2 separate regions of the Homo sapiens genome follow, and region 2 is linked to region 1. Evidence: promoter capture Hi-C in human tissues and cell types (Jung and others, 2019). All regions are on one chromosome and are shown on one strand. Each heading gives the region's core, a stretch centred on a gene start or on the middle of the fragment in contact. The rest is flanking DNA. Distances are from core to core; before and after follow the strand shown.

The links. Contacts are between HindIII fragments. The study calls those that stand out against the background at their distance.
Region 2: a contact is called between a fragment that was not itself captured here and the fragment with the promoter of ZNF491 in region 1, in 1 of the 25 tissues and cell types used here (dorsolateral prefrontal cortex).

The regions. Positions count from the first base shown.
Region 1 is chr19:11,795,417-11,802,379 of GRCh38, reverse strand. It overlaps ZNF491 (zinc finger protein 491), which reads right to left and starts at 3,857. Exons shown (of 3, transcript NM_152356.4): 1 at 3,653-3,857. RefSeq lists enhancers at 3,596-3,755, 3,766-3,865, 4,091-4,602 and a silencer at 4,696-4,865. The HindIII fragment of the contact is 4,685 bases long and covers 2,201-6,885 here.
Region 2 is chr19:12,682,440-12,689,402 of GRCh38, reverse strand. It overlaps GNG14 (G protein subunit gamma 14), which reads right to left and starts at 1,405. Exons shown (of 1, transcript NM_001316692.2): 1 at 981-1,405. The coding sequence starts at 1,354. The coding sequence ends at 1,031. It overlaps FBXW9 (F-box and WD repeat domain containing 9), which reads left to right. Exons shown (of 10, transcript NM_032301.3): 9 at 1-31; 10 at 113-487. The coding sequence ends at 187. RefSeq lists enhancers at 5,780-6,302, 6,826-6,963. The HindIII fragment of the contact is 4,816 bases long and covers 897-5,712 here.

The DNA.
Region 1 (6,963 bases), core at 2,608-5,107:
AGAATTTCCATAATTCAACTATAAAAAACACATCAAACATGCCAAATGGAAAGCTTTGATGAGCATGCTGACAAACTGGAACCTATGTACACTGTCCAAGGGATTGTAAAATGGCTTAGCTATGAAAAACAGTATGGCAGTGCCTCAAAAATTAAAAACAAAATTACCAAATGTTCCAGCAACCCACTTTTAGGTCGAATTATATTCAATTCAAAAGAATTAAAAGTAGGATCTCAAAGAAATATTTGAAAACCATCGATGGCTGGGTACAGTGGCTGATGCCTGTAACCCCAACACTTTCAGGAGGCTGAGGCAGGAAGATCAATTGAGCCCAGGAATTTGAGACCAGCCTAGGCAACAGAGTGAGATCCAATCTCTATAAAAAATAAAATAAAATGAATTGAAATCCATTGTTCACAACACCCAACAGGTAGATCAACCTAAATGCCAATCAATGGATGAATGGATAATGAAAATGTATATATATATACAACAGGATATTATTTATTCTTATAAAATGACATCCTGTCCCATACTACAACAGGCATGAAACTTCATGATACTAAGCTAACTGCAAAAGACCAGTCAGAAAAAGAAAAATGCAGTATGACTCATCTTAGAGAAGTTATATAAAATTGTCAAACTAACTCAATGGTACACTTAAAATGCTTGAGCTAGTAAAATTTTTAAGGTTTTTCTTATTGTAATTAACTAGAAAAATTATTGTACCAAAAAGGAAAACTAATTGACTAAAATATGGGCAATGGCGCGATCTTGGTTCACTGCAACCTCCGCCTCCCAGGTTCAAGCAATTCTCCTGCCTCAGCCTCCTGAGTAGCTGGGACTATAGGCATGCACCACCATGCCCAGCTAATTTTTGTATTTTTAGTAAAGACAGGGTTTCACTATGTTGGCCAGGCTGGTCTTGAACTCCTGACCTCATGATCCACCCGCCTCAGCCTCCCAAAGTGCTGAGATTATAGGCATGAGCCACCACATCCAGCCAAGCAATGGATTTTAATGACATTTCTCCCAGACATACACAAATGGCCAACAAACACATGAAAAGATGATCAATGTCAAGAATCAGCCATGGAGTTTTACCCAATGTCATTTTGGGTAGTTACTGAATAGTTTCCTCTCATAAAAAATATTCATAAACAAAATATAATTTTTTTCTTTTTAAAATTTTATTTATTTATTTAATAGAGACGGGGTCTCTCTATGTTGCTGAGCTGGTCTTAAACTTCTGGACTCAAGTGATCCTCCCACCTCGGCCTGCCAAAGTGCTGGGATTACAGGTGTAAGCCAGCATGCCAAGCCCTAAAGTTTTTGTTTTTTTGAGGAAAATTTTCACCCTGTCTCCCAGGCTGGAGTGCAGTGGTGCCCTCAAGGCTCACTGCAGCCTTGGATCTTCGGGGCTCAAGCGATCCTCCCGCCTTAGTCTCCCGAGTATAGTAGCTGAGACTACAGGAATATGACACCATGCCCAGCTATTTTGTTTGGTTGTTTTCAGTAGAGATGAGATCTTGCTATGTTGCCCTGCCCACTCTGGTCTTGAACTCCTAGGCTCAAGCAATCCTCCCACCTGGGCCTCTGAAAGTGCTGGGATTACAGGAGTGAGTCACTGTGCCTGGACTAAAATTTTTAAAAAATGTTTTCTTTCCCGTGTCTCTACTAAAAATACAAAAATCTGCCGGGCATGTCGGCACATGCCTGTAATCCCAGCTACTTGGGAGGCTGAGGCAGGGGAATCGCTTGAACCCAGGAGGCCGAGGTTGCAGTGAGCCAAGATAGCACCATTGCACTCCAGCCTGGGCAACAGACACAGTGAGACTGTCTCAAAAAAAAAAAAAAAAAAAAAGTTTTCCTTATTTTCAGAGGTGTTGATAACATTTTTAAATAGTGCTATTCATTTGTCTGTGGAAAAATGATAAAATATGGCAGCTGTTTCAAATGTAGCATGGGAAACACATAATTGATAAGGATGTCAATTGGCGAGGGGAAGTTGGTGTTTTTGAATGTGAGGAGAAAACCAGAAATTTAGGGATTTACTGTCATACCTGGGAAGAACTAGGCTGGGAGAGGGGTCCCAAAAACTCCCTCTTTGATCAAACTAGTCAGGCTCCTCAGAGCCCCCCTCTTCTTGAGTAGACTTTGGCCTTTTCCTGCAGAGCCCTGTGGTAGCAAAAACCCTTCTAAGGGAGTTTAGAGAAAATTCCCCCAAACCTGATATCCAATCAAGTCCCTTTTCCCTACGTTTGACAATCTCTTCCCTAATTCTTGACACTAAACCAACTTCCATCCTCTCCCTCACCTTGCCTATTAGCTGTAAATTCAATACTGTCGTTGATGCAGCCTTCACCTCCTGGGCTCAAGCAATTCTCCTGCCTCAGCCTCCAGACTAACTACAGAAGCGGCCATCATACCTGACTAATTTTTTTTTTTTTTAACAGAGTCTCGCTCTGTCGCCAGGCTGGAGTGCAGTGGCACCATCTCGGCTCACGCAACCTCCGCCTCCTGCGTTCAAGCGATTGTCTTGCCTCAGCCTCCCGAGTAGCCGGATTACAGGCACGTGCCACCACGCCCAGCTAATTTTTGTATTTTTGGTAGAGTCGGGGTTTCACCATGTTGGCCAGGATGGTCTCGAATTCCTGACCTCGTCATCCGCCCGCCTCGGCCTCCCAAAGTGCTGGGATTGTAGACGTGAGCCACCGCGCCCGGCCATACCCGACTAATTTTTTAAAATATTTTGTACAGACGGGGTCTCGCCATGTTGTCCACGCTGGCATCACCTTGCCTTACGCTGGAATGTTAAATATACTCTTTTAAATTGGAAAGGAAATGAAACCCAAATGTAAAGAAAAAAAAAAAAAAGCTCTATGGGGGCGGGGGGAGGGGGGCGGGCCAAACTCTGATTAAATTGTTGTGCCTCACAAACTAGCCTTGTATAAAAAACGTTGTAATCCTGTTAAATTTCTTGCCTATATAAGCAAGAACTTAAACTTTTAAATTTGAAACACTGAGCCCATTTCCGTGGATCCTGTGTTTTCCCAAATGGGCCATTCCCAGCTTCTTGCTTGAGTAAACTTTAAAAAACTGGAATCTGATTCTTTTATTTCAGGTTGACAAGTCCACATACGGCGACAGCATCACTGTAACTAATCAAGTATTTAATCCTGTTTGCCTCCTCATGCAACTTATAAAAGCCTTTTCTTCAATCACAAGCCATGACCGGGTGTTTCTCACTCGGAATCGCTGTTGCTCCAACAAACTCTTTAACTGTTAACAGAGCCTCAGTTTAATTTTTAGCAGAAGAAAGGCGGGACACATCCGACCCCCCATGACCCTCCCGTGGCCCCCGCACAATCTGGGAAGACGCCGGGCTGCGGGCGCGGAGCTGCCCAGAGAGGACTCCGGGGCCGGGGCCGCAGTCGCCGCGTAGGGACGGGACAGGACGCCCGGGGTCCCAGCTGCGGGCCCAGCCCCACCTGGCGGCCGAGCGGACCGAGGGCCAAGCCACGCCATGGGGGACGCGGGTCCCAATCGCCGGGGTCGCCCGAGCGGAGGCCTGGGTCCCGCCACAGCAGGATCCTGTTGGTTCCACCCAGCCCCTCTTCCACGTATCTGGACGCTAGGCCGGGCACTTTACCATTTCCCTGCTTCTTGGTGTCCCGGCGTCCTCTTTATGACTCCGGAGCAGGTCACAGCGCAGGTGACAGCGTCACAGGAGCCGTGGCGGAGGCACCTGGGGCCTCTCGGAGCAGCAAGGACTGGATGCAGAACGCAACGGACCCCAGCAACAAAGGAGTGCAGAGACTCTGAGTGCGGCCTTCTGCTTCCCCGGATTGACAGTTGGCAGGGCCCCGTCCCAGGGCCCCTGATTGGATGGGGTTCCAGGCTCCGCCCCTCAGCCCTGAGTGACAGGGTAAGCCCTGGGTAACGGAGCCCTGCAGAGCCCGGCTGATTAATCCTAGCTACAGCCTTTCTAAGGCTAAGCTCACTCCCTGCGCCCTGGTCGTTGGCTATCTGCATTTCAGCCAAACTTGCTACTTATTGTTAGAAGGGGCACTGTTAGCTTCCTCGATCTTTCAGAAATGTGTGCTGGGAATTCCAGACTCGGTGTTCAATGGAGTCATTCCTTTGCCTCATAGCAGGAAGGAAATCCAGGCCAGGCCAGGCCAGGCAAGACTGCACCAGGAGGGAGAGGCAGGTGTCCTCTACAGGGCGGGAATTGGGGATGAGACTTCCTCACACTCCCCCCGTCCCACCCCTGAATATGGAACCGCTTCCTCCCCCTAGACTTCATTTTCACCAGCAGAAGTTCTCACCTGGGGTCAGTTTAAGCTTCTAACCTAAGTAAACTATTACCTTCACAAACCCTTTCTCCAGGTGACATGTCAGACAAATCTTACTGAGCCTGATCTTCACAGATTATCTTTGTATGTACAAATTACAGTCTGTCGCCGGGACCCTTTGCACGTAAAAACCAAACACTGCCCCCGCAAAACGTCCCTAGGCTCTAGGTACAGCCCCAGTAAGGACAGAACCTCCCCCCAACCCCCCTACACAAAGTGCACCTGCACGTGAGTCTCCTGCTTTCCAGGGCTCTGTAGCTTCTCAGGATCCACATTCCTTCCGCAGCTGTTCTGAGCAGCTGGAGGCCACCTGCAGTAGAGGGCAGGCTGCCCGGGAAACACCCAGGGGAGCTCCCTTTCCCTCCCTTTGCCGGCTCCAGACTGGCCTCAGCAGGGTGTCACTGGCCTTAGGCTCTGCTGCCCCCTACAGGTTATTCACTTCATTGATCGGTTACCTGAGACAAACACCCTCAGTTCCACTGTACGTATGTATAAAGTGGGGAAGGAAAATTCTAAGATAATTGAAGTGAATTAAAAGACTTGCAGGCAGGGTGCGGGGGCTCACGCCTATAATCCCAACCCTTTTGGAGGCTGAAGCGGGAGGACTGCTTGAACCCAGGAGTTCATCATCCTGGAAAACGGAGCCACACCTCGTCTGTACTAAAAATTTAAAAATTAGCAGTGCGTGGTGTCCTGAACCTGTAGTCCCAGCTACTCGGGAGGCTGAGGTGGGAAGATCTTGAGCCCAGGAGTTTGAAGCTTCAGTGACCTATGATCTCGCCACTGTGCTTCAGCAAGAGTTGTGATAGTTGTATCAGATAAAATAGACTTTAAATAAAAAACAGTACAAAAAGACAAAGAAGATCATGAGATACTGATAACAGAATCAATTCAGCAAGATAATATAGTAATACTAAATATATATGCATCCAACATTGGAGAGGCCAAATTAATAAAGCAAATATTTCTAGACCTAAAGAAAGATATAGATAGCAATACAATAATAGTATGGGACTTCAGCACCTCACACACAGTAGTAGATATATCATCAAGACAGACAATCAACAAAAAAATTGGACTTAAGTTGGACTTTGGACCAAATGGAGCTAACAGACGTTTACAGAACCCAACAACTGCAGAATATACATTCTTCTCATCAGTACGTGAAACATTCTCCAAGGTAGACCATATGTTAGGCCACAAAACTAGTCTCGACAAATTTTAAAGTCAAAATCATTTCAAGCATCTTCTCAGACTGCTGAATAAAACTAAAAATCAATACCAAGAGGAACTTTGAAAACTGTATAAATACATGGAAATTAAACAATGTGCTCCTGAATGATCTCTGAGTCAAAGAAGAAATAAAAACAGAAAATAAAAATTTTGTTTGAAATGAACAAAAATGGCAACACAACATATCAAAACCTCTGGGATATAGGAAAAGTCATGCTAAGAGGGAAGTTTATAGAATTATATGCCTCTGTCAAAAAAGTAACAAATTAACAACCTAACATGGTACCCCATGGAACTAGGAAAACAAGAACAAAACAAATCCAAAGTTGGCAGAAAAGAAATAACAAAGATCAGAGCAGAATTAAACAAAATCAAGACTAAAAAACAACACAAATGATAAACGAAACAAAAAGTTGGTTCTTTGAAAATATCAACAAAAGTAATAAACTGCTGGCTAGACTAACCAAGAAAAAAAAGAAGATTCAAATGAACAAAACCAGAATTGAAAAAGAAGACATTACACCAATACCACAGAAATACCATCAGAGACTACTATGAACAACTATATGCTCACAACCTAGAAAACCTATAGGTTTTTTTGAAACGTATAACCTCCCAGGATTGAACCAAGAAGAAACAGATATCCTGAATAGACCAATAATAAGTAGCAATATTGAATCAGCAATAAAAAAATTCCCAAAAATGAAAGCTCTGGGCCAGACAGATTTATACCAAAATTGTACCAAATAGGCCAGATGTGGTGGCTCATGCCTGTAATCATAGCACTGTGGAGCCTGAGACAGGAGGATTGCTTGAGGCCAGGAGTTTGAGACCACCCTGGCCAACATAACAAGATCCCATCTCTAAGTAAAAAAATAAAAATTTAAAAATCAACATTAAAAAAATTATACCAAACATACAAAAAGAACTATACTAATAATCCTGAAACTGTCCCTAAAAATCACAGACAAGGGAAATCTCCCTAACTCATTCTATGAGGCCAGTAACATCCTAATACCAAAAACAGACAAGGACACAACAACAAAACTACAGACCAATATCCCCGATGAACACGGATGTGAAAATCCCCAACAAAACACTAGCAAACTGAATCCAACCGCACATTAAAAAGATAATACAGCATGATAAAGTAGGTTTTATACCAGGAATGCAAAAATGGTCCAACACACACAAGTTAATATATGTAACACATCACAAAAACAGAATGAAGAATAAAAACCATATGATCATCTCAATAGATTTAGAAAACACACTTGATAAAATTCAGCATCCTTCATGATAAAAGCTCAAAAAACTAGGTACAGAATGAACATATCTCAAAATAATAAAAGCCACACATGATAAACACACA
Region 2 (6,963 bases), core at 2,055-4,554, 890 kb before region 1:
CACCCGAAGGCATGACAATGGGCTCAATAGGGTAAGGTCCTGCCCCATGTGCCCTGCCCAGCTGGCCAGAGCGCCATCGTCCCTGACTCCTCATGTTCCTCCCCCTTCCCAGGTCTGTGCTGAGGGCAACCTGGTGGTGGCCGGCTCTGGAGACCTGTCGCTAGAGGTCTGGAGGCTGCAGGCCTGAGCAGGTGGGCGTGGATGTGGATACTGCCTGCCGGAGGCTGGGCTTCCTCCTCTGTTCTTGGGGGACCATCCCCAATGTTGGTGCTGCCTCCGCCCCGTGGGCCTAGGGCACAAGGAGTCCCAGCCACATTCGGGTGAGCGTCCTGGCCTGGGCCCTATGCCCGGGGGAAGGGTGAAATTGGGGTTCAGGCCCACCCAGGGGGCCGCTTCCCACTCTTGGGCCCTGGTTTTGTTATGATTTGGATGCCCCGCTCTCAGTTGAGAGCGAAGGAGAAATAAACCTGACATGTTGGTGCTTGGGCCTGGAGTGTGAGTGTGGTTTGCCTGCTGGGGTTCTGCCTGTGCCTGCTTGGGGCTGTGGGGCTGCGGGCCTGCATGGGAGTGACTGGGAGAGATAGCAAGTCTGGGCTGGGGGTGCATGTCAGCTGTTGCTGTGCATTTGAAGAGGGAGAGTCCTGAGGATCGTGGGCATCTGTGTCTATGATGTCACGTGTGTGTGTGATGTGTGACGCGTGTGGTGTATAGATTATGACTCAAATCCTGGCCATTTGTCTGCACGGTGGGAAAGGGTACCTGCTCAGGCTATCCCATGGGTGCTGGCGAGGGCAAGAGGGATGGCGTGCTCTCCGTCTGGGGCTCCAGGGTGTGTGTGTGCTGCTGTGGCTGTGACCCCGGGGGCAGGCAGGGAGGGAGGCTGGGCCAGGTACGCACCTGGCCCCTGCAAGCCCAAAGTCCCTCTGGTCTCCCATCTCAGCCCAGCTCAGCCATGCCCTGAGAAGTATTCACTTCATGTTTATTGAGGCCCCCTGGTTTGCCCAGGCCACAGGGTGGCATTGCCCTGGGTTCATAGGATGGCATAGGGCTTCTTCTCCTTGAAGGAGTTGGTGGCGGCCGGGATGCCCACAAGGAAGGGGTCATTCTTGGCCTGCTCCGTGCAGAACTTCAGCAGATCGGCGGCCATCTTTGGACACCTGCAGACCAACTGGTTCAGCCAGACCAGACCCAGGCATGCACCTGTCCCCTGGCCCATGTGTTCCCACCTCTTCCCGCCTCCTGCACTGGCCCCGACCCTCACCTTCACTTGGTCGATGCCTGCCTCCATCTGGAGCTGCTCCACTGCCCAGAGGGCCTGCCCAATGTCACTGTTGATGGCCACCTTGCTGGACATCTGGGTAAAGTGGGCAGGCCGTGGGCAGCAGGCCCAACCTCAGTCCCCTAGGGGGAGCCTAGGGCTGCCCGAGGGTTCCCACACCTCCTTCTATGTTCCTTGGGGGCTGCAGGATGAGGGTGGCTGCTCCTGGACCCATCAGGCCCACACACCTCGGCTAAGGGCTCCGGCCCAAGTCACCTCTGGCTGCCTGGTCCTCTGGTGGCCACCCTGCTGTGGCTCCCTCCCCAACCCAGCCTGTCCTCTTCAACCCCCTTTTCTCCCTCGGCTACCCCTGCAAAGACTTTGAAGCCAGGGCTCTCATGGAGTGAAATGTCACCAGCTGCAGCAGCAGCTGCTGCCTCGGCTGAGGGGGTCCCTGCCCCAGGAGGCCCTGTGGCTCCTCTGGTGTCATGTGTCACCTGGGTCCCTGTGGGCTAGGTGCCTTGGCTGGGGGAGTGAGGAGGCCCTGGCCTCCCCCTGGCCTGCTGGATCTCCTGCTAACTGTTCCCAACACATCTGCTTTGTCAGCCTCTGCCATCTCCAACATGCAGCCTTGCCTCTCCTCCTGTTGTCGCCACTGCTCAGGCTCAAATCTCCAATGCCTTCGTTCTTTTTTTTTTTTTTTTTTTTTTTTTTGAGAGAGAGTCTTGCTCTATCACCCATGTTGGAGTGCAGTGGTGCGATCTCAGCTCACTTTCAACCTCCACCTCCCGGGCTCAAGTGATTCTCCTGCCTCAGCCTCCTGAGTAGCTGGGATTACAGGCGTATGCTACCACACCCGGCTAATTTTTTTTTTTTTTTTTTTTTTGAGATGGTATTTCGCTCTTGTTGCCCAGGCTAGAGTGCAATAGCGTGATTTCGGCTCACTGCAACCTCCGCCTTCTGGGTTCAAGCGATTCTTCTGCCTCAGCCTCTCGAGTAGCTGGGATTACAGGCATGTGCCACCATGCTCGGCTAATTTTTTGTATTTTTAGTAGAGATGAGGTTTCACCATGTTGGTCAGGCTGGTCTTGAACTCCTGATCTCAGGTGATCCACTTGCCTCAGCCTCCCAAAGTGCTGGGATTACAGGCATGAGCCACTGCGCCCGGCCACACCTGGCTAATTTTTGTATTTTTAGTAGAGAAGGGGTTTCACCATGTTGGCCAGGCTGGTCTCGAACTCCTGACCTCAAGTGATCCACCTGCTTCGGCCTCCCAAAGTGCTGGGATTACAGGTGTGAGCCATCGTGCCTGGCCTTCTTTTCTTTTTTTAAGCCCAGGTTCTCGCTCTGTCGTCCAGGCTGGAGTGCAGTGGTACAATCATAGCTCACTGTAACTTCAAACTCCTGGGCTCAAGTGATCCTCTCAACTCAGCCTCCTGATTAGCTAGAATTATAGGCGTGAGCCACCGTGCCCTGCTAATTTATGTTTTTAACTTTTTGTAGAGATGGTTCTTACTATGTTGCCCAGGCTGGTCTTGAACTCCTGGCCTCAAACGATCCTCTTGCCTTGGCCTTCCAAAGGAATTATAGGCATAAGCCACTGAGCCCTGCCCCGAGATTCTAATATGTGCCCAGCACTGTGCAAAAACCCAAATTAGCAATGAAACAAGACAAAACCTTGCCCTCATGGAGCTGCCTTTCTAGTTAGGCAGGGATGGACAACAGAAAATGTACTCAGTGAAAGAGTATACATGTGAAAGGGCATATGAAAGAAGAATAAAATCAAAGTAAAGGGGAGAGGAGTGGTCAGGGCAGGCCTCTCAGAGGAGGTGACATTTGAACTTAGGCCCAAAGGAGGAGAAGGAACTGAGAAATGGGGTGTTCTAGGCAGAAGGAGCGGCAAGTACCTGACTCCTTGGACAAAAAAGAGCTTGGTGGGTTCCAGGAATAGCAAAGAGGTCTGTGTAGCTGGAGAGGAGAGAGGGAGGGAGGGCCAGCATGGTGGGAGATGGCAGCAGGGAGGTTGAGAGGTGCCCTTTAAGGCCACTGTGAAAAGCTTGGATTTTACTCCCAGGGGGAAGCTACCATTAGGAGGTTTTAACAGTGACATGTTTGATTTATGGTTAAAGAGCTGTGGCATGCACCTGTAGTCCCAGCTACTGGGGAGGCTGAAGTGGGAGGATCACTTGAGGCCAGGAGGTCGAAGCTGCAGTGAGGTGTGATTGTCCCACTGCACTCCAGCCCTGGTGACAGAGTGAGACCCTGCATCAAAAAAAAAAGCTCAGCGGCTGGGCACGGTGGCTCATGCCTGTAATCCCAGCACTTTGGGAGGCTGAGGTGGGCGGATCACGAGGTCAGGAGATCAAGACCATCCTGGCTAACATGGTGAAACCCCGTCTCTACTAAAAATACAAAAAATTAGCTGGGCGTGTGGCGGGCGCCTGTAGTCCCAGCTACTTGGGAGGCTGAGGCAGGAGACTGGCGTGAACCCGGGAGGTGGAGCTTGTAGTGAGCCGAAATCACACCACTACACTCCAGCCTGGGCGACAGAGCAAGACTCCGTCTCAAAAAAAAAAAAAAAAAAAAAAAAGCTCTCTGATTTTAGCTGTTAGGTGGGAGATGGGTTGGAGGATACCAAAGCCAGCTTGCAGGCTATGGGGATAAAGAAAACACCTGGATTTCGGACCTACTTTATAGGTAGAGGTTGGCAGACATGCTGAGAAGGATGGATGTGGGGTGTGAGAAAAGGGGAGACAGCAAGCTGCGCTCCTCATTTTTAATTTTTATTTATCTATTTTTGAGACGGAGTTTCGCTCTGTTGCCCAGGCTGGAGTGCAGTGGCACCATCTCAGCTCACTGCAACCTCCACCTCCCGGGTTCAAGTGATTCTCCTGCCTCAGCCTCCTGAGTAGCTGGGATTATGGGTGTGCGCCACCACACCCGGCTAATTTTTGTATTTTTTAGTAGAGACGGGGTTTCGCCATGTTGTCCAGGCTGGTCTCTAACTCCTAACCTCAGGTGATCTGCCCTCCTTGGCATCCCAAAGTGCTGGGATTACAGGTGTGAGCCACCGCGCCCAGCCCCAATCCCTATTTTTCAGTCTAGTGGATGAGTGGAGGGTGGGGCCGTTTGCTGAGATGCAGAAAGATCAGGGATAGGTGGAGAGGGAGCTGAGGGGGCAACTTTGAGGTCCAAGCGAGGATGTCAAGGAGGATGTCTGTCTCCTCCAACAAGGTAGGCTCATTCCAGCCTCACGGCTTTTGCTGTTCTGTCTTCCCATGTGCAGGAAATGGCCTCTCTGCATCTTCACATACGGGGATTTTCTCAGCCTTCTGGCTTTGGCTCAAATCTCACCTCCTTGGCGTCCTTCACCCATCCCTCCAACTAAAATCCCGAACTCCTCCACCTAAAGACTCAAATTATCCTGTTTAAATCCTGATTGCGCTGGGCGCGGTGGCTCACACCTGTAATCCCAGCACTTTGGGAGGCCGAGGCAGGCAGATCACCTGAGGTCAGGAGTTCGAGACTAGCCTGACCAACATAGTGAAACCCCATCTCTACTAAAAATACAAGAATTAGCCGGGCGTGATGGCTCATGCCTGTAATCCCAGCTACTCGGGAGGCTGAGGCAGGAGAATTGCTTGAAACTGGGAGGCAGAGGTTGCGATGAGTGGAGATCGCGCCATTGCACTCCAGCCTGGGCAACAAGAGCGAAACTCTGTCTCCAAAAAAAACAAAAAACAAAAAAGGCCTGATAGCACTCACCACTATTGTTAACTTTCTATCTTCCCAATCAGATTGTGGGCTCCAGTAGGGCAGGGTCCACATCTTGGTCTTGTTCACCACTAAATCCTTAGTGCCTAGCACGGAGCCCACCATAGAGAATAGACTACATGAATTGTAGAGTGAGTGAATAATCCTGTTGGCCGTATGCACTGTTAGGAGGGTGTGTTTGAGATACAGATGACACCCAGGGTCTCACATTCTTGCAGGAGGGAAAGAGACGTCAGCCCTGGGTCCCAGAAGAGGCCACTGACCCAGTGGGAGTTCAGGGAAGGCTTCCCAGAGGAGGTGGAGGTGACAGCTGCAGCTATAAGGGAAGGAAGAACAGAGCGTTATGCAGCATGTGAAGGCTTTGGAGACTTGTGAGGGCACGAACCGGGCTCACTATCCCATTAGACAAAAGTGGCTGAGGAAGGATGAAACTGTGTCTAACTCTGCCTGGTGACCGAAATCTTGTCCATGGGTGACGCTTAAGAAGTGACCCTCGGCCGGGCGCAGTGGCTCACGCCTGTAATCCTGGCACTTTGGGAGGCCAAGGCGGGCGGGTCACGAGTTCAGGAGATCGAGACCATCCTGGCTAACACGGTGAAACCCCATCTCTACTAAAAACAGAAAAAATTAGCCGGGTGTGGTGGCGGGCACCTGTAGTCCCAGTTACTCGGGAGGCTGAGGCAGGAGAATGGCATGAACCTGGGAGGCAGAGCTTGCAGTGAGCCGAGATTGCGCCACTGCACTCCAGCCTGGGCGACAGAGCGAGACTCTGTCTCAAAAAAAAAAAAAAAAAAAAAAGTGACCCTCATAAAAAAATTAGCTGGGCACGATGGTGCACACTAGTCGGAATGCTGGGGTGGGAGGATGACCTGAGTCCGGGAGTCAGAGGTTGCAGTGGGCCGAGATCGCGTCACAGCACTCCAGCCTGGCGACAGAGTGAGACCCTATCAAAAAATAGCAGCAGGCCAGGCGCGGTGGCTCATGCCTGTAATCCCAGCACTTTGGGAGGCTGAGGCGGGCGGATCACGAGGTCAGGAGATCGAGACTACCCTGGCTAACACGGTGAAACCCCGTCTCTACTAAAAATACAAAATATTAGCCGGGCGTGGTGGCCGGCGCCTGTAGTCCCAGTTACTGGGGAGGCTGAGGCAGAAGAATGGCGTGAACCTGGGAGGCGGAGGTTGCAGTGAGCCGAGATCGTGCCACTGCACTCCAGCCTGGGAGACAGCGCAAGACTCTAGCTCAAACAAACAAACAAACAAAACAGCAACAACAACAACAAAACCATCCTCCCCTCCCGAGGGGACAGAACAGAAACGAATGGGCGAGTGCCGGGCCAAGCAGTGGGTCTCCAGCAGGTGGCATTAAAATAGGAATTTTGGCTGGGGACGGTGGCTCACACCTGTAATCTCAGCACTTTGGAAAGCCCAGGCGGGCGGTCACCTGAGGGCAGAACCAGCCTCGCCAACATGGTGAAATGCCATCTCTACTAAAAATAAAAAATTAGCCAGGCCTGGTGGTGGGTGTCTGTAATCCCAGCAACTCGGGAGGCTGAGGCAGGAGAATCGCTTGAACCAGGGGGGCAGAGGTTGCAATGAGTCAAGATTGCACCACCGCACTCCAGCCTGCGTAACAAGAGCGTGTAACTCTTGTCTCAAAAATAAATTAAATAAATAAATAATAAAAATAAAAAAGAATCTTCATTCATGGGAAGTCGAGAACACATGAAAACAAGTAAAGGCCGAAGCGCAGTGGCTCACGCCTGTAATCCCAGCACTTTGGGAGGCTGAGGCGGGCGGATAACCTGAGGTCGGAAGTTCGAGACCAGCCTGACCAACAGGGAGAAACCCCGCCTCTACTAAAAATACAAAATTAGCCGGGCATGGCGGTGCATGCCAGTAGTCCCAGCTACTCGGGAGGCTGAGGCAGGA